2 separate regions of the Homo sapiens genome follow, and region 1 is linked to region 2. Evidence: promoter capture Hi-C in human tissues and cell types (Jung and others, 2019). All regions are on one chromosome and are shown on one strand. Each heading gives the region's core, a stretch centred on a gene start or on the middle of the fragment in contact. The rest is flanking DNA. Distances are from core to core; before and after follow the strand shown.

Region 1 (2,700 bases), core at 25-2,524, 64 kb before region 2:
CAAATACTGCAATTTAAATGAAAGCCATTCTCTACATGAAGTTAATTTAGTATTAACACCGAATAACTTAGGCCTTTAGTGGTAACTTTGAAATTATCCAACTAAGTTAGAGTTTTGGATGTAATCCAAGAAATTATTACATGCGAATAAAGCTAGTTTAAACACTTGCAGGCTTATAAAGTCTTATAAAATTTTATGAAAAACTATTTGAAAATAAGGAATTTTAATTTCCCCAAATCTACTTCCTTTTTATTTTTCACCCGCTGTGACTTCTGTAAATACAGTGTGCCAGACTCAGCTATAAACACTTAAGTGGCATGGAGCACCGTATTTTTTTTTTACTAGACTTTCAATTATTTCCTTAAATCTATCAGTTCACTCACATGATTATAAACAATTGGTTTCCCAACAGTGAAATTCCTTCTCACCTGTCTTTGATGATCCAGATCTGCTTTATTACCAATTAAAATCATTGGGAACTCATCACGATCCTTTACTCTGAGAATCTGTCTTTGAAACTTATAGATTTCTTCAAAACTTAAAAAAAAAAAATCAAAAACAAATTAATCAATTTGGTCAAGTATCAGAATTCAGCAAGTCTCATGCCCCAATTAGTACTTTATTTTTCCTTTTTCTATAAAAACAAAAAGTCCAAACTCAATAAAGTCTAGTGATCTTGACAAGAACAGTGGATCTACATTCTAATATGGTACAAACCTGCCTCTATCTGTGACTGAAAAGACCAACAGGAAGCCTTCGCCAGTCCTCATATACTGTTCTCTCATGGCTCCAAACTCTTCTTGTCCTGCTGTATCCAAAACTAAAGAAAAAACAACAAATGTAATTATACTTGTTTTTTATAAACTGCTTCCCCACAAGGGCAAGACCAATTAATGTGAGTCCTCTAGAGAGCCTCATACTTGGTATAATACAGAAATGGCATTCCTTTCTTAGTACTTTATTCTTAATACTAAAGGCAAATATATTCTAATGGCAGACAGTTACAGAGTTTATCTTCATCAGTATGGGTTGACTTTGTGGTTAGAATATATTAGCACACTAATTAGAAGCTTAAAAATATCAAACACATTTAATCAGATGGAGTCAGGTGACCTCTAAAATCACTTGAATGTTTTATCCCCTCCATGGAAAAAACTGAAAAAGATACCTGTAAATTCAAGAAAGAAATCTGAGTTATAACCACTATCCCCCAATACCATACTTAGTGCAGGTGCTAATGTAACTTTTGATCTCTGTAAATAAAAGAATCATACATATTAGAAGAATAGAGCTTTCTTTGTGGAGAGGGGGGATGTTTAGACACAAAACAGTACTTGCTAAAGTCTCTGTGCTATAAATTCTAAGTAACAGTATCAAACTTTTTCTATATTCACTTCATCCATTTTAACCTTTGCCAAAAGGTAGGAAGAGTTGAGACCTGACAGGTTTTTTCCAGTTGTCCCAATAAAATCAACTTCAACAAACTGCAATGAGACCAGTTTCACTAGAACAAGATCAATACAAATATCGTTTTACTTTTCATTTATTGAGGAATATTTAAATTACCCATTATGCAGACTCTTCAATCAAAACTTATAAATGACATGGGCTAATATTCCAGATCATCTAATATTTCAAATATATTATTTAACATAGCAAAACATCAGCGCTTACTTTTTTAAAAAATATGATATGCAAATTATCAAACAAAGGAAGTTTACTTACTATCTAGCCGGGCTGCTCTGTCATCTATCACACACTGCTTTGTGTAAGAATCTTCAATGGTTGGATCATAATCCGTTACAAAATAGGACTGCAAGAAAAGAAAAAACTTTATTTTAAAATTCATGGCCAGGCATGGTAGCTCACACCTGTAATCCTATGCTCTGGGAGGCCGAGGGAGAAGGATCACTTGAGGCCAGGAGTTTGAGACCAGCCTGGGCAACACAGCAAGACTCTTATCTCTTAAAAAAAAATTAAAAAATTAAAAAATTAGCCGACGTGGTGTGTACCTGTGGTCTCTGTTACTTGGGAGGCTGATGTGGGAGGATCACTTGAGCCCAGGTGGTTGGGGCTGCAATGAACCATGATTGTGCCACTGTACTCCAGCCTGGGAGACAGGACAAGACCCTGTCTCAAAAATAAAAATAAATAAAATAAATAGAATAAAAAATAAAATAAAATTTATGATTACCTGCCTACCAATGTACCAATGTAACTTTGCTTAACAAATTCCACTTATCCAGAACTAATCAAAACATTTTCACTGTACTAGGGTTTACCCTCTATGACAATTCCCCACCAAATGTTCTTATGAGCACCTTCACGTGAAGAAAAGGTACTAGGTATCTCTAAATTTTCATATCTGAAATATGCAAGACTGTAAAAGATCTACAACTTTTTTCATAATTATTTAAGGTTAAGAATCTAGATCTCAAACTCTAGAAAAATTAGAAAACACAGTAAGTTATAATTCAGACCTATTTGAATTAGCAACCTGATTATAATCATCAGTCCTAAGAAGTCAAGTATCTGGAAAAAATGGAGACAACACAAAGAGGCCTGGAACATTTCATCTTATACCTTTCTTTTCTCACACTTTGTCTTATTCCCCTTTCAACTGCCTTATGTACTACAAGAAAATATCATTTTGAAATTTTTTCATTAGTAGGAACCTCAAACTTACTCTTTCACTGACAT
Region 2 (2,700 bases), core at 201-2,700:
TCACCGTTCATACTCTAGATACTGTGAAAAATATCCTTGTTTCCTGTTATAACAGGGTACCTTCGTTCTCTCCCAGCATATGCCACACCTTTTAGGTTGACAAAAGCAGAAAGACATCGGGGCTTTGTGTTTTAAAAATCCCAAAAAAGACTACTCAAACCTCTCCCCAAGAGCAAATTCTAAGAAGGAAGAATACCACCTCCCTTTTCTTTACCACAAACCCCTGACTTACCGTCTCTAGCAACCAGAGAGGGCTGGGGGTAGGGGAGAGGGTGGTTAGAAAACAGAACGCACGACTCGGTCATATCCTAGCCCGGCCCATCCCAAACTTCACCTAGGCACGGCGAGAAGCAGGACGGCATCAGGAATTCCTAGGAAATGGTCTCACCCCATCAGAGAACATTTTTAACTTCCTAGAAGCCACCATTTCCCCGGGGCATTATCACACACTCCCACCCGGACATATTACCTAAGAGAGTACTTATAAAAAGAGCGTAACACACACACAAAGAAATACACAGTACTTGAAGCGGGCAGCTCCGGCTCAGGCGGCGCGGGGAAGCCCGGAGACCACGCGGAGCCGCGGCCAAGTTGCCACCGCTATCGCCCCGACGGTGAAGGCGCGGCCGCAGGCGGCTGGAAAAGCAGCGCGCGGGGCTCCAGCTCCAGCCCCACGCCCGGACCCTCGGAGCAGTAAAGCCCGGCTCGGTGGCCCAGCCTCTCCCGGAGGTCTCTGGCCTCGGCCAGAGCAATAAGGTGGATCGGTGCTTCCCACCCTTCCAGCTCCGCCCTCCCGACCACATTCCTGAGAAGCCCTACTCCCGCGACGCCGCGCCCGGGAGGAGGCAGGAGCGCGACGCTGCGGCCGCAGGGCAGGAGCGTAGTCGGCCCCGCGCCCTCCCGCCCCCTGGCCCCGGCCCGGGCCCGCGAGGCGCCTCTGGGGCGAGGTCGCGGCGGCCGCCCCGCCACAGGTAGCGCCAGCCCCCGCCCGCCGCCGCTCCGGCGCCCCGGGCAGGCCCGCTCCAGGTACCTGGATGAACTGGATGGTGAGCGCCGACTTGCCCACGCCGCCCCCGCCGACCACCACGAGCCGGTACTTCTCCTGGCCGGAGCCGTCCCGCCAGCCGGCCGCGGCCATGGGGACGCTACAGAGCCCAGCCTGACTGCGCCGAGCCGCCGCTGCCGCCCGCCCTAGGCCCGGCTCCGGGGACGTGTGCGGCCGGCGGGCTGCGGGCGAGCGGCCGGGCTGGGGTCCCGGGTACCGGGAGGCGTCTGGAGGGCCGGTCAGCGCGGTAGCGCGGCGCTGGGGACTGGCTGGGTACCGCCCGAGGCGCGGAGAAGCGGGGTGACGGCACGGGCCAGGGGCGGCAGCGGCCGGGGGGCGCGCTCCTCTACGCGTCTCCGCAGCGCCTGCCGAACGCAGCCTCCAGCGCCGCCACAAATGGCCGTCTGGGGGCCGGGCTGCCAGGCTGAGGTGCTGCATATGCATGAGGGGGCGGGGAGGGGCGGGGCCGCGCCGCTTGGGGCTGAGGTTCGGGAGGTAACCCGGGCTTCAGACCCCCACGGACACACCGCTCTAATCCCTAGCCAGTGAGCGAGTGCGTGAGAGTGTGGGAGTGGGTGTCAGTTGGGAGTGGGACGAAGGCAGAAAGAGTGTGTCACCCTAATTGTCTATGTAAGGGATTGTGTGGATGAAAAATACAATATGTGACGGCGTGTGCGAAAAATAGGGCTGTTGGCATATTAACTCAATTTTATAGGAGAGTACATACCCTGCTTTAAGAGTACAGATGGTGACCATATTTGTGTGAAAAACAGTATGTGACAGTGATTGAGGATTAGAGCTGTGTCACAGTAATTGAGTGTGTGATGGGCTGGTGGTTGTGACAGTGTGAAGAATGGGACAGTGGCTGAGCATGGAGAATAAGTCAGTGATTGAGCTTGCATGGGCAAGACGGAATGTGACAGATTTTGTATGTGTCAGTACAGTGTCATAGTGGCTATGTTTATGTGTGACAAATGTGCAGTAATTGGATATGAGGAGTGTGAGTGCGAGGGGTTGAACTCCTGGCCTCAAGCAATCCTCCCGCCTCGGCCTCCCAAAGTGCTGGAATTACAGGTGTGAGTCACTGCACCCGGCCTCATGGGGTTTTTAATAAGAATTAAATGAGCACATAAAACAGTGCTGCTACACAGGAAGCATTTACAGCAATCTTGGAACATGACTGCAAGTTCTTGGACTTCACTTGGTAACTCATTTGGAACCAGTAGAATGCAGCAGAAGAGATGCTGCCTAATTTCCCAGGCTAGATCAGAAGAGGCCATGCAGCTGTTCTCTTGGTATTCTCACTCCGGGAGGAACAAAGTCAGAAGTTTGACTATCATAAGACTGCCATGCTAAAGAGGCTACATGTAGGCATGCCAGTCGAAGTCTGATTGATGGCCAGGAGCAACATGCCATTTAAAAAAAAAAAAAAAAAGTCCCACTGAGCTCCCACCAGATCACCAGCATCACCTGCCAGCCATCTAAGTGAGACATCTTGGACACTCAGCCTAATCGAGCCTTCCAATGACGGCATCCCCTGTTAGCATCTGAATGCAACTGCGTGAGAGACCCCAAGCAAAAATACCCATCCAGGCCAGCCCATCCTGAATTCCTTTTTTAAAAATCTTTTTTTTTTCTTTTTTGAGACAAGATCC

The links. The method cuts DNA at HindIII sites, captures the fragments that hold promoters and counts their contacts. A contact is called where the count stands out against the background at its distance.
Region 1: a contact is called between a fragment that was not itself captured here and the fragment with the promoter of RRAS2 in region 2, in 1 of the 25 tissues and cell types used here (aorta).

The regions. Positions count from the first base shown.
Region 1 is chr11:14,294,043-14,296,742 of GRCh38, forward strand. It overlaps RRAS2 (RAS related 2), which reads right to left. Exons shown (of 6, transcript NM_012250.6): 2 at 1,726-1,813; 3 at 718-820; 4 at 429-537. Among named protein-coding and RNA genes, the nearest start is that of RRAS2, 64 kb to the right of the region's middle. The HindIII fragment of the contact is 7,091 bases long and covers 1-2,700 here.
Region 2 is chr11:14,357,733-14,360,432 of GRCh38, forward strand. It overlaps RRAS2 (RAS related 2), which reads right to left and starts at 1,451. Exons shown (of 6, transcript NM_012250.6): 1 at 1,031-1,451. The coding sequence starts at 1,138. RefSeq lists an enhancer at 281-380 and silencers at 621-740, 781-980, 1,051-1,550. The HindIII fragment of the contact is 8,284 bases long and covers 328-2,700 here.